Regions from separate parts of the Homo sapiens genome. Here all the other regions are linked to region 1. The links are contacts of gene promoters, found by promoter capture Hi-C in blood cells and fetal thymus (Javierre and others, 2016). All regions are on one chromosome and are shown on one strand. Each heading gives the region's core, a stretch centred on a gene start or on the middle of the fragment in contact. The rest is flanking DNA. Distances are from core to core; before and after follow the strand shown. Region 1 holds the start of SENP7 (SUMO specific peptidase 7). Region 2 overlaps CMSS1 (cms1 ribosomal small subunit homolog). Region 3 has its middle 3.0 kb from the start of NIT2.

Evidence for each region. Contacts are between HindIII fragments. The CHiCAGO score rates a contact against its expected background, and 5 or more counts as called.
Region 2: a contact is called between a fragment that was not itself captured here and the fragment with the promoter of SENP7 in region 1, in 1 of 17 cell types (fetal thymus). The highest score is 5.2, in fetal thymus.
Region 3: a contact is called between a fragment that was not itself captured here and the fragment with the promoter of SENP7 in region 1, in 1 of 17 cell types (naive CD8 T cells). The highest score is 5.2, in naive CD8 T cells.

What each region holds. Positions count from the first base shown.
Region 1 is chr3:101,511,167-101,515,980 of GRCh38, forward strand. SENP7 (SUMO specific peptidase 7) reads right to left here and starts at 2,046. Exons shown (of 24, transcript NM_020654.5): 1 at 1,925-2,046. The coding sequence starts at 1,964. The HindIII fragment of the contact is 4,750 bases long and covers 1-2,813 here.
Region 2 is chr3:99,873,477-99,878,290 of GRCh38, forward strand. All of the region lies in intron 1 of CMSS1 (cms1 ribosomal small subunit homolog), which reads left to right. The region is part of intron 4 of FILIP1L (filamin A interacting protein 1 like); the gene reads right to left. The region is part of intron 1 of LOC105374010 (a long non-coding RNA gene); the gene reads left to right. Among named protein-coding and RNA genes, the nearest start is that of HP09053, 52 kb to the left of the region's middle. RefSeq lists a silencer at 2,534-3,003 and an enhancer at 4,569-4,814. The HindIII fragment of the contact is 1,651 bases long and covers 2,068-3,718 here.
Region 3 is chr3:100,329,381-100,334,194 of GRCh38, forward strand. No RefSeq gene overlaps it. Among named protein-coding and RNA genes, the nearest start is that of NIT2, 3.0 kb to the right of the region's middle. The HindIII fragment of the contact is 2,363 bases long and covers 1,643-4,005 here.

The DNA.
Region 1 (4,814 bases), core at 796-3,295:
TCTAGAGATATAACTAACGTAAATATCAATGTCTTTTAAGGATTAACAGCTTTATTATCAAAATCCACTTCCCACAACTACTTACATCAAGTTACTGTGACAAATAAATAAATCTAAGTGTAATCAGGTAAAAAGGAACGTGACTTGTTGAATTACAAGGCAAATATCTTACCTTCCCTCCTCAAAAATGTATTAAACCTAGATGAAATGCATTTATTTAAAAAAGGTTGTGCATCTCAAAGGAAGATATGATCACACCTAAAGTTCTGTGTTAGGAAGCCCGCAAATGACACCAGCTAAGCATTGTGCGTTTTCCTAATGTGTCCATTTTACTTAGAGGTTTGGTGGGGGGTGGAGACTATTAAAACACTCATCAGTTGGAGGCATATACCTACATGTATGTATAAATATACATATATATCATTTATACATGTGCTTTCAAAGGAAAAAACTATTATCTCCAGAATATACACCAAGAACATCGATAACATTGGTTGCATATGAAAAGGGATTTCAGGTTTTCAACTGCTTCAAGCAGTGTCCCCAGAGATCCATAATCACTCTCCTTTGCAATTAAGGCTGAAAGCAGTTTGAGATGCACTGCCACAGGGCACTCCTAAATAAATTTGGAATTGGTTTTTTTTGTTTTTTTTTTGTTGTTGTTGTTGTTTGATACAGAGTCTCGCTCTGTTGCCCAGGCTGGAGTGCAGTGGTGCGATCTCGGCTCACTGCAAGCTCCGCCTCCCGGGTTCACGCCATTCTCCTGCCTCAGCCTCCTGAGTAGCTGGGACTACAGGCGCCCGCCACCACGCCCGGCTAATTTTTTGCATTTTTTAGTAGAGACGGGGTTTCACAATGTTAGCCAGGATGGTCTCGATCTCCTGACTTTGTGATCCGACCGCCTCGGCCTCCCAAGGTGTTGGCATTACAGGCGTGAGCCACCGCGCCCGGCCAATAAATCTGTAATTGTTAACTGTCTCTGCAGAAACCAACGGTACCATCAGAAACAGAAAAATGAAATGAAATAATTGATTCATTGGGCGTTCGTTTGTGTACTGGACTGTAAGCATATGAGTCCTCGTCCTCTCCTCCTACCATCCATAGGACTTAACACAAGGACTTGAGGACCCCCTAATGGATGAAATGTTTGATAAAAACTTCTCAACTGGGAGGAGCTCTACCTCACGTTTTTATAACTCCACTTTCTTGTTTCCAAGACGTTGTACACAAAACTGAAGATAGTCATTTAAAACAAAGTAACGTCCAAAACAAAAAATATGCTGAAAATAAAAACACAACGAAAGCACGGCTTCAAATCCTTTGTTTGACTTTCCAATCACTTTTGGAAGACGCAGGGTAGGCTGGAAAAGAAAAAGGCTATTAGGCGGGCCTGTTCAGCAGAACGAGACCCGGAGAGGCATTGTATCAAAGAAAAGGAGTCTCCGGTCGCAAGCCCCACCTTTCCTCCCCAGCAGCAGCTACCTGCTGAGGGAAAGAGGAGGGAGAGGGGAAGGGACGCAAAGTCGAGAATCAAAGGAAGAGAGGAAAGTGGGGTCAGGCGCTGAGAAGCCGAAATGAAATTGGAACATTGGTGGAATTACGAGGAAGGCGTGGCAGAGAGTGACAAGCCAACCGGGAAGATCCATGGGCCGATGAGACGCAAGGAGGGTGTTCGCGGGAGGAGGGAAAAAATAAAAGGGGTTTTGAGGTGAAGAGCGCCCGAGGCTTCGATGACAGCTCGGACCGGGTCTTCGACTCCAGGGGCGGGGGCGACCCGGGAGCCTTCCATTGTGCGCGCCCCTTCCTCTCCCCGCCCCCGCCCTCGCCCCCGCGGCTTCGGGCCGCAACCCCAGCTGCCGCCTGCGCCTCCCGTTTCCCCCGGGTAGGAGACAATATGTTCAGCCCTTCTCTGACCCTTTCTCACCGGATGAAGATGGCCGTCGCCCGAGCTTTCTCTTGTCCATCTTCTCCCGCTGCTGAAATTTCAGTTGCAGGCGCTGTCACCTCAGGACCCCTCCGGCTTGGAGAGGGAGGGGGAGGGGAAAGGAAAAAAAAAAAAAAAAAAAAAAAAAAAAAAAAGCCCGCAAAGTGCGAAGCGCGCTTGCGCAAGAGCCGTCGCCTGCCCTTCGACCGGAAATCAGCCGCCCCTCCCACCTTCGACCGGAAATCACTTCCTGGGACTTTTCACTGTGGGCTGCCTCTTCCAGCGTTTTTTTGGTGGCGTTTATTTCATGATCTGAGCCCCTCTGGGGAGGTGAACCACCTGGGTGCTCGATTTTAGCTTTGTTGACTTTGAAGATTAGATTGACAAAAATTAAAAGGGAAAAACAGGAACTCCTCCGGTTCACTGGATCTCGCGAGGTGGCCAAACAACTATGAAAACAAAACGTTAGCGTTTGCAGTATTACATCCCTCACAGCCTCTCTTACATATTTGCCCCCAACGCCTTTCCTCGAACTCAGAAACCAAAAGATTTTAAGATGGCAAAATCACCTAATAATAGCCTAGCTATTAGTTTAGCATTTGCTGTGGAAATATGTCAGCAGACGAGGAAAAATGTCTTAGGATTCCTTTTTAAAATTCGAACTTGTGATTTTTAAAGTTCCTTAAAAGAAAAGCTAGAACTTAATTTTTCAATAACTGAAATGCTGATATGACAGAAAGTGGGTGGCTATAAACTTGGAATTTGTTCAATTAACATTTACCACGATACTTAAGGGACTAATCCAGTCCTCAATGAACTCAAGGTCTGGTACTATTAGCCTGATTATCCCTAATGGTGCATATCTGAATAATTTTTAAATGCACGTGTAAGCTTTCATGACGATTTAATCACAAGTTTAACAAAATTCAGCACAGTGCTCTAAGCAGGGAAAATGTTTCTGGCATGTTCAAAGCCCGAAGGGACTCTGGAAGTAGGGTTTGATTCCCAAGCTGGCCCCTTTATACCCCTAACGCCTATCCCTCCAACCCCCATCTCCCATCCTAACGGAGTCAATAAAGGGATCGGCCCAACTCGTCCACTAGAGCAGTCCCCTTCATCGTGAGTTAAGCCTTCTTAATTATAATGTGGTCAGTCCCCAGGTAGAGGTAAGGCCCCAGGTGTTGTGGGGTGTTGGGCCTGGGGAAGTGTTCTACATGGCAGGAATGACTGCAAAGCAGAAATACTTTAAGTCTTGCTGGGATTGAAGTTTACTGTAAGGATTTCGTTTTATTTGGTTAATTTCTGTTTAACAAAAACATTGCTTTCTGAAAAATAATTGAATTTTCAGTTTCCTCACAAATTAACTTTTTTTTTTTTTTGAGACGGAGTCTCGCTCTGTCGCCCAGGCTGGAGTGCAGTGGCACAATCTCGGCTCGCTGCAAGCTTCACCTCCTGGGTTCACGCCATTCTCCTGCCTCAGCCTCCCGAGTAGCTGAGACTACAGGCGCCCGCCACCACGCCCGGCTAATTTTTTGTATTTTTTAGTAGAGATGGGGTTTCACCATGTTAGCCAGCATGGTCTCGATCTCCTGACCTCGTGATCCGCCCGCCTCAGCCTCCCAGAGTGCTGGGATTACAGGCGTGAGCCACTGCGCCTGGCCCAAATTAACTTTTTTAACTAAAGAACTTAACTGATTCTAAAGTCAAGCTGGGCCGGACACAGTGGCTCGCGTCTGTAATCCCAGCACTTTGGGAGGCCGAGGCAGAATAGATTGAGCCAAGACATTCCAGACCATCCTGGGCAACAAAGCAAGACCCCCCTCTCCACAAAAATATACAGGCCAGATGCTATGACTCACCCTTGAGCCCAGGAGTTTGATACCAGCCTGGGCAATATAGTGAGACCTCCTCTCTACAAAGAAAAAAACTAGCCACACGTGGTGGCGCATGCCTGTAGTCCCAGGTACTCAAGAGGCTAAGGCAGGAAGATCACTTAAGCCCATGGAGTTAAAAGTTGCAGTGAGCCTTGATCAGGCCACTGCATTCCAGCCTGGGCGACAGAGCCAGACTGTCTCGGAAAAAAAAAAAAAAATGACCCGGGCACGGTGGAGCACACCTATAGTCCCCGGCTACTGGGGAAGATGAGATTTAAGGATTACTTGAGTCCAGGACTTTGAGGCTGCAGTGAGCTATGATCGCTACACGGTACTGCGGCCTGGGCGACACACAGATACCCTGTCTCCAAAAAACATAAAAAATAAACTTCCCAGACGATTCTGTTGCATACTCCAATTTGGTAAAACCAACACTTAGTGACATCTGCTTTTTTCTTTTTCCTATCTCTAATATTCTTTTTTCTATGTGTCCTTGCCTCTGGTGGATTAAATACAACTTTTTTGTTCCCTAGGGAGAGGTGAACAGTGAGGAGGGACATTATGTACTTTCATCTTATTTTGAAATTTCTACAGATATAATTTCACAACCACTATTATTTTCTACAATTTACTAAATGGAATTGTAATACAGGCATTATTATTTTTCTAAAAAACTGCATAATTGCTTTCTGTGTTGGGAAAAGAAAAATAGTGCTGCTTTTGTACCAAAACAGTATTCTTTCTTTCAAACATATTTTCTAGAGGTTTTTTGTTTTGTTTTGCTTTCCTAAATATGAAAATAAATGAAAACTTACTCGTTGTAAAAAAAAAAAAGTATCATTAGATATTTTTAAATATTCTGAGTAAAAGTATTCTCCATTCTGTGCTTCTTAATGGCATGGTATATACAAAAGGACCTTGTTCCTAAATATAAAAAAGGATTATAATTACTGTATTAGATTATTACTCTGTAACCAGGGGATTTCCTAACTTCTCAGATTATAAAATTACTTCTT
Region 2 (4,814 bases), core at 1,643-4,142, 1.6 Mb before region 1:
CCTTTTTCCTTTAAATAGGAGGGGCTGTATGTTTTTTTTCTATTCACCTTGTAAAATGTTCACTTTGCCCTGAAGCACTAGACATGGACAGAACATGACCTAAGCAGAATTATTGGAATCTTATTCTTCCTCCTACATTTTCAGTTTTTTTTCTTAAATCTCAAAATCCATTTATTACCAAAGGCACTTTTTTGGAGGGGAAATTACAGCAGAGAACCCTTAAACAAAATTTACAGCCTTTTGAGAAGGCAAATTAATGGGAACTGCAAGAGAACCGGAAAATTAAGTCAAGGCTTGATTTGTGTTTTCATACTGGCTGTTACTATAGTCTCCATCACAGCATTAGGAAAATAGCACAAAAATACCAGGGCTTAACAGTTAAGGTTAATCACCACAAAAGTGCAAATGAACTTACTAAGCATAAAATTATTATGTGCTTTATTTGGAAGTGTAGAAATTCACATTCATTCTATCAAAAACATTTTCCCATCATACAGATTGTCCCAAGGACTAAGAAATTGCTCATCCAAAGAGCCCAGTGTGAGATAGGGTATCCATGATAAGTCATACTTAGCTTTCAGTTTTAAAAGAGGTCTTATGTGATTGTTCTTTGAACCATGCTTTAAAGTTAATAAATGGGAAAAAGTGTGGAATATTAAAGAGTGTTATTTTTAAATTTTAAAAAATCGATGCTTGCCTGCTTTAAAAAAATAAAAGACACTGGGAAACACAGCTGTTAGAATTTTGATGGAAGTTATGATTTTCAACAGTTGAGTTGTAGTTTATGGTACAGATGGTACTCTGGGTATACCTGAAACAATAATTGATGGTTTCTGTTTGTCTCTTCCTCTGTTAGATTCAGAAGAGCAGAATATCTTTTTTCCAGAGCAGGAATTTTTCAGTTTCCAATTACCGCTTATATCAGATAAACAACTCTTCCATTGCATATTCTGTACTTCTCCACAGTGACATGGGTGTTGGCCCCGCTCTTCTCATTATGGTGGGCTTCCCTAGGTTTGAAATAATAGTTTGTGGAAAATCCTACTTCTCAGTACTAACCTGCAGTTTATATAGCCTATCCTCAGGCCAAATAACATATAATTTTTCTTTTAAAATATGAAAACCAAAGTCGTGCATTGCTCCAAACAAAATTAGCAAAAACAAAAAAACTGCTATGAGGCAAAAATGATAGGCACCAATGTCATATACTTTTAAAAACCATCCAACAGAAATTATTAGAAATATACAGATATAACCCACATTTTGAGTATTTTTTAAATGCTGTGTTTCAATGATAAAATCTGGGATCTGACATTTTCTTCTGACAATTAAATATAAAAACATGAGTTTGTAACACACACATACACCTCAGTGGTTATAGTGCTCTGCTCCTCTGTTAAACTTTTACTGTACCTCCAAACAGTTATCTTATATGGTCATTTTAGTGCCAACTAAAATGCCAGCATTTTAAAATCTCAGAGTAAATATAAATGGCAGCCTATGAATTCTGAGTTTGAATTGTATATACTTATAAAACATAGAGACTGTTTTAAAAGGGACAATTCTGTCACATAGTTGTTAAAGTTTTATTTTACAATATATGTTTAGACCAGATAAGGATTGAATGATGAATCAATTTTTCATCTCCTATTCCAGTGTTCTAAAGTTGACATAACCTTTTTATTTTTAATTCCTACGTTGACTTTTAGTTGGAAAAAATGAAGTAAAATATTATGGAGATTTTTCTGCCAAGTGTTCAGTTATCATACTGTAAGAGTTCATTGGTAGCAATAGCCTCTTCAGGATTTAGATGTAACTAATTATGGTTTAAAATGTTACTGATTAATACAGTTACTCTATAAGTTTTACCTTTTAAATTGGCATTTTTTACATAATATACTACTATCCAAAATATTACTCTAGAAATGATAGCTGTAAGTGAGGTTTGTCATTTTTCCAATGCCTGGACTTGAAGCAGAAAGTTAGAACTCAAAACTATGATAGTTACTTCCTTGTACAAATTGACATATGCTTTTACGACAAAATAGCGTTTGTACGATTTTTTGAAGCTTAAAAAGATTTTACTTTTTAAGTTAGATTCGTCTTAATTCCAAGATGTATTCCTAACAGTGTTTTTCTAGTCGTTTATATTAACATTTACAAAAAGAGGGGAAAACCTGGCACTAACAAATTTTCGCATTCTGCTCATGTAAGACAAGCGAGTTTGAGTCCGGAGGAGAGATAGGGTTGCTGCAGTACAATATAGTCTCCCCCACCCTTTCCCCAAAGATTTCTCAATATGGGCAGGATTCAATGTGTAGCTCACTTGGAAAGCGTATGTAATACAGTCACCTCCCACCTCTCAACATTTAAAATTAAATCTCTAATCTGTTTTCTCCTCCAGAGAAAACTTCTACTTTCAAGTTTTGTGTGAGTTGGAAACGGTTTTGAACCTAGAATTCATTGGATGCGCTTTGCGAAACCTGTCTGCAGTTTGTGATGCTGAGACAGCTTTAACAGCCACCCACAGACTTGCTACCTGGCTGTCTGACAGCAGTGCCCCTTGGTGGAGCGAAGTTGCTCTCCCGGGCTTACCTGAACTGCCTGCGCCGGGGCCGGGCGGGGGCCGGGCCGGGGCCGCTGTAGTGCCGCGCTGCGAGCCGACTGTGCGCGCTCCGAGAGTCGCCCGAACAATGCGAGCGGGGCGCTGAGCGCGCCCGGCCTATGGGCGTTACGTCACTGTTCTGCCTTATAAGGCGCTCCGCGTGTGCGGCGCTGTCGGCGGGGGCGCCGGTGACCGCGGGACCCTCGGCCGCGGCGGCGGCGCAGCCACACACCCCAGCTCCCGCGGATGTTCCGGCCGTGTGAACGGACCGTGGTTCCCGGCTCCCAGCGGAGGGAATGAGTGGTGGGCCGGTGGGCCGGGGCGCCGGCGCCCTCCTGTCGGGCTAACAAAGTCATTGGGAGGCAGGGTCGATCCGCTTGTAACTTTTTTCCCTCTGGGTCCCTAAAGCTGTTGTTGCTTCAGGGACTTCAATACACATCCTGTTATTCTTATGTAAACTTTTGTAAATTCATTATACTTTTTATTTTTGGTTGCTGGGGGTAGGCGGGAGAGGGAAAGGAGAAGTCTGGGGTTTTGTGGAGACATCTCTGGGGGTGATTTAGACTTCAAACCTTCTCTTTCCTCTTTGTAATGAGTAGGGGTCCTCAGAGGATGGTGTTTTATTTCCTGATGATGTAACTACCAAACAATTCTTCAAGTGATGATGGAAAGGCCAGATGAAATCTTATTTTTTTCAGTGTTTTTCCTGAAAGAACTTCCTCTTTCCCCATTTCTGCATGCCTGTGTTTTAACGAAAGCAGTTAAAACTATCATTTTTTGGCAGGGAAAAAATTTTTAAAGAAATTAAATGTTTTGTGCTGTACTTTCAAGACAATGTATAAAATTAGAACTTTAGAGCCAGTTTTAATGTTTGTTCTCTTCTACCGGCAAACAAAATAAAGCCAAAAATAACCACGTGAAGAAAAAAGAAATTAGCCAAATGTGATTGAATTAAGAATATTATCCTCTAGTATGGGGTAGATTTACTTGTACAAATCCTACTTCTTGTGAATGAGAATTCACCTCCGAATTATAAGAGAAGTCATACCTAAAGTTCTAGCCCAACTATATGAATCTGCTAAATAAATTAGGGACGTGGCATTCTTATTTGCAAGCTTCAGATGAGTAATTTTAGTAGCTTGAGTCCTTTTAAAACCTCTTTTAAAATTACATTAAAATAGGATTGCTTCCTATTATGATGTACATATGTCTGTAGAATTATTGTTTCCATATGTTTTGTCAAACAAGAATGACGAAAATAGTCTGCTCGCTTCATTTTCTTAGTGTGGAGTGGAGAAAGGATGTTTGCAGAGTTGTTAGTGGAAATGGTGTGGAATAAAGATGCAGGGCACAACATTAAATGTATGTCCTCTTCACTAAATTGGGAGTTCACTTTATCATTATTCTAGATCACTCTAAGTACCTACTGAGAAACCTAAAGTAAACTCACTCTTGCTTTTCATATACAGTATACTAAGAGATGTGAATTACACATACTCTTCAGCCGAACTTAAAATTTAATATTTGATTTGCAATTGTGTACTAACATTTTGGATGTTGAGTTTGTAGTTTTGTTGGTTTTAACTCTTCTGCCCTATACTTGTGAATTGCATTGTAATCTTTTTAGTCTCCTGTGCTTACCTCATACTTATTAAATATCCTTTTTGAGACTTTTATGCTGCATTTTTTATTACAAATGAGATTAAATGACTTTTATGAAAGTTGTATGATGCATAAACACCTGAATCTCAGCCCCAAACTGATAGCATACTTTTACCCCAAAGCTAACAGTTTTGTAGCTTGTTTTGCATCTTTTTCCCTCTGATAGGCAAATATGTTTCCTAACATTTAACACTACCATTTGTTTCTTTCTCACATATCCATACTCAAGTTTTGCATTTATTTTCATTCTTTTGACTTGCTGGTTCCCATGAAATATGTTAGTATTATTTCCTCCTTTTCTTTAGCTATATTCTGAAGAATAGAGGAAAGAGGATTAGGGCTTCTACTCCTTGTATGCCCTTGCCTGGTACACTACTTGCCTGGTTACATTACTAATGTGTTACTCCTGAAACATCAGTCTCTTGACCCAGCTATGACTCAGCTTTCCAAGTGAGGTCATAGTTATGTGACCACTGTCTTCAGGAACCAATATTAATAGCCCTCATTTGTTGAGCTTTTAGATCATACCTACCACCATACTTAGTGC
Region 3 (4,814 bases), core at 1,574-4,073, 1.2 Mb before region 1:
ATGAAAAGCACAATCCATAAGAATGAATCATGTCTATTATCCCAGCACTTTGGGAGGCCGAGACGGGCAGATCACGAGGTCAGGAGTTTGAGACCAGCCTGGCCTGCAAGGTGAAACCCCCTCTCTACTAAAAATACAAAAATTAGTCGGGCTTGGTGGCGTGCGCCTGTAATCCCAGCTACTTGGGAGGCTGAGATAAGAGAATCACTTGACTCTGGGAGGCAGAGGTTGCAGTGAGCCGAGATCACCACTGCACTCCGGCCTGGGTGACAGAGAGAGACTCCATCTCAAAAAAAAAAAAAAAAAAATCTTAAATTTAAAAATTTTGCTCTGCAAAAGACACTTAATAGAAGGGAAAGACAAGCTACATACTGGGGAAAAATACTGTACTTGCAAAACATACCAACAAAGGATTTGTGTTCAGAATATATAAAGATTTTCACTACAACAATAAGAAAACAAAACAATGGGGAAAAGAAGCAATTCTTCAGAGAAAGATGGGTGGCAAATAGGCATGTGAAAAGATCATCATTAGCTGTTGGGGAAATGTAAATCAAAACCACACCAGTTAGAATGGCTAAAATTAAAAACAAAAAATGACAATACCAAGTGCTGGTGAGGATATGGAATAACTAGAACATTCATACATTGCTGGTGGGTGTACAAAATGGTACAGACACTCTAGACAACAGTTTGGCCATTTCTTGTAAATAAACATATGTTTACTATACAACCCGGCAATCCCTCTCCTAGGTATTTACCCTAGGGAAATGAAAACTTAACATCCACACAAAAGAGTTCATGGTTATAACTGCTATACTGTGCCACCTCTTTGCTGTTTGCTGTCCTGGAAACAGCAGGCGAGAGCTAGTGGCCTTCTCAGTGTTTGCTTTTCTCTTCAGGTTGCCAGCTTTACTCAGTTACCTGTCTAACCCACGTGGGTATATTAAATTGGTCTCCCAACGTTAAGTAACTTGTCCAAAGTTACATGGTGTGTCAGCAAAGTTTTGAACTCAGGTCTCCTGATTTGCAGAGAACTGCATCAGAAATTTAAAAATTCTGTGTATCTATGCATTTATGTGTATATTTAGATGCATACACACTCTTTGACTCCTCCCTGTACACAGTTCTAACCCAATATGATAATTCCCAAGTTTGATCCTTTGCTTTCTGTAGTATACTCTTTCCTTCTCCGATTGCATCTACTCATAGATTTCTTCTCTTATTCTTTGCAAATGACTGCAATTCTGATTTTCAGCCCCTAATTTCTGACTGCTGTAAGTCACTTGCGTATTGTGGTGTTACGAGGTATACACACACATACATACACACATTTTCAAGCACGGTCCCTGACTCCCATAGCCTTGTTAAGTCTTTTGTTATAATGCCAGTTGTGTTAGGCCTCAGGGGCAGGCCTCAGGAAACAGAATCTCTCTGGCCTCTCCTGCTCTCCTTTCACCTGCCCCAAGGCAGAACTCTAATCTTGCTGATTGTGGGTCTTAAATACCTCCTGAGAGCTCCTGCCCCATCCCTTGGAGGAAGGAATGCTGATAACATAAAGTTCCCATAAAGGCCAATAGAACTGGGTTTGGAGAGCTTCTAGATAGCTGACCACGTTCGTGGAGGTTCTGGAGGGCATGGAAGCTTTGTGCCCCTCCTCCCATACTTTGCCCTACACATCTCTTCCTTGTAGCCTTTGCAACATCCTTTATAATAAACCAGGAAACATGTTTCCATGAGTTCTGTGAGCTGCTCCAGCAAGTTATTCAAACCCAAAGATGGGATCATGGCAACCCCAACTTGAAAGTGGTTGGTCAGAAGTTCTGGAGTCCAAGACATATGACTGGTGCCGGTGTGTCTTCCTCAGGTAGACAGTGTTGGAATTGAATAGGAGGATACCCAGCTGGTGTCCGCTGCTTGGTGGTAGGGAGGAACCCCCTCACATTTGGTCCCAGAATTCTTCTGTGATGATGATTGTTGTGGTGGTGATGTAAGAGCAGAGGAAAAACACGGAGAGTTTTCCTGGAACACATATCCACCTCTCCCCCAAAAACTGAGCTCACGTTCCCCTAGACTCACCTCATACTATGAAGCGGCAGCTGGAGGAATGCTGATGGAAAGGAGAGACCAGTTAGGAAGTGCCTGTAGCAGTCTCCCCAAGGTGAGGAAGGCCTACCTGTGGACGGTGGTGGTGGGAACTGAAAGGAGGAATCAGGGACATTTCCTGAGAGTAAGAAGAGCCCTGTCCCTTACCAGAGGTGGGGAATGAAAGACTCGAAAGTCACTGAAGTGACTTAGGTTTTCTTGGAGGGCTGGAAAGCAGGGAGAATTAGAAAACTGGGCATAAATTGTGGTGCCTGTAAGTGCTGGGTGGAGAAGCTCTTTTGGAGGTGATACATTTAGTTTCACATAGTTGAGTTGGAACTGATGTTGAGACATGTAAATAGAGATGGCGGCAGCCGGAGATGTTGAAATAGGTCCTCTGGAGTAAAAATAAAAATCTGACTAGTAACAGCCTGGAAATGGTCATTAAGCCTGTGAGACATGGGTAGAAATGAGAATAGAGACTGAAAAGGCACACCAGATTTTTAGCTGGGCTTTCAAGATCCATTTGGCCTGGTAGTTTTGTTTTTTGGCCTATTTTCATACGTCAGATGAACAGGAACATGGAAACGAAGGCAGAGCTGCTGCAGAGAAGGGACAGTGAGGGGAGTGGTGGTGGGGAGGGCTGCACAAACTTCACCCTTCAGCCAGATTCTTCTTCCTTTGCCTCTAAATCCTTTCACATACAGGTGAGGAAAAGGTCCTGAGGGTGAGGTGATTTGCCCTAGGTATTAACATCTAATCAGTGTCAGAGCCAGAACCAGAACCCAGTGACTAGCTTTTCCATTGTGCCCAGAAAGTTCTAAAGAAAGGTTTAAAAAGCGCACTTTCATTTAGCTTTTCCTTTTCTAGGAACACCCCTAGTGCCCAAGTCAGCAGTTTCCCTGCATGTGACAGAGGGACACAGTACCCATAGGCTTTTGGTCTTGATGGCCTTCTCCTGGTCCTGCTTCTCTCTCTCTCTTTTTTTTTTTAATGGAGTCTGGCTCTGTCACCCAGGCTGGTGTGCAGTGGCACAATCTCGGCTCACCGCAACATTCGCCTCCCAGGTTCAAGTGATTCTGCTGTCTCAGCCTCCTGAGTAGCTGGGATTACAGGTGTGTGCCACCACGCCCAGCTAATTTTTGCATTTTTAGTAGAGACGGGGTTTCACCATGCTGGTCAGGCTGGTCTCGAGCTCCTGACCTCTTGATCCACCTGCCTCCACCTCCTGAAGTGCTGGGATTATGTTAATTATTAAATCTAGGAGGAGGACACAGCTGTTCCTCCACCAGGCAGTGGCGCCCGGCCTGGTCCTTCTCCTCTAATGGCTCCTTCCCAGGCTCCACAGGCCCTTCTTCTTTTGCGTGTGCCTTTCATACTCCGCTTGTGTGTTCTCATCCAAATTCAGAGCTTCCTCTTAGTTAAAACTGCTGGTGACTCCCAAGTCAATTTCCAGCCCAGACATCTTCTGAGCTTGAGGCTTTGGTCCGGTTGCCTACTGGGCATCTCCACCTGGATGCCATGGCTCATGCCTATAAGGCCAGCACTTTTTGAAGCCAAAGTGGGAGGATCACTTGAGCCTAGGAGTTTGAGACCAGCCTGGGCAACACTGTAAGAATCCACTTCTAAAAAAATGAAATAATTTGCATTTTGAACAAGCACTTCAAATAACATTTCCAGCCAGGTTTAGGACCACTATTAGTTACAATGTTAGTCCAATAAATTTGGAAATCTAGATGAATTTTTTTAACAGGTTGTAAGTGACCACAGGTTGACCCTGAAACCTCATAGGTTAATAAGCATAGCAGAAATGAAAAGGTTTTTAAAGATCTTCCTGCTACAAAGCCAAGTCCAGATAGTCTCTTAAGCTGCAGAAAGACCATAACTGCTATGTATTTCCCCCCAATTTTTTTTTATGAAAGCTTAAAATTTTAAACTTCTACAAAGTTTTAATCTAGTACCATGAACAGCTGTGTCCTCCTCCTAGATTTAATAATTAACATTTTGCCATATTTGCTTTATCTTATGTGTTTTCTTTTTGCTGACGATTTTCAAGTCAAACATTCTGATGGTTCATCCCTAATACTTCCTCATTTTCTAAGAGTAAAGAATTGTCACAAGCACAACACTATAGCACACAAAATAATTCAGAAAAGCATCAAATATCTCGTTCATATTTAAATCTCCCTAGTTGCCCCCAAAATGTTTTTATAGTGTTCTTTTACAAACCAAGATCTGTTTCAGTATAAACTATTCTGGGGCATTCCAAAAGGTGGTTAAGTTTTGGATTTTTGTTCCACAAGTCTGACAAGGCACAAAAACACAAAACACGAAAATTAAAAAGCAATCTAATAAATAAAAATGCAAAAATCATAGTCTATAGGCTGGGCGCAGCAGCTCACGCCTATAATTCCAGCACTTTGGGAGGCTAAGGCAGTAGGGTCTTGAGCTCAGGAGTTTGAGACCAGCCTGGGCAAAATAGCAAGGCCCCACCTCTATTAAAAGTAAAAAACTTAAAAAAAAAAAAAAAAGAAAGAAAGAAAGAAAAAGAAAAAAGGAAAAGAAATAGCTAGGTGTGGTGGTGTGTGCCTGTAGTCCCAGCTACTTGGGAGGCTGAGGACGGAGGATCGCTTGAGCCGGGAGGTTGAGGCTGCAATGGGCTGAGACTGCTGCACTGCACTCCTGACTGGATGACAGAGTGAGACCCTGTCTAAAACAAACAAACAAAA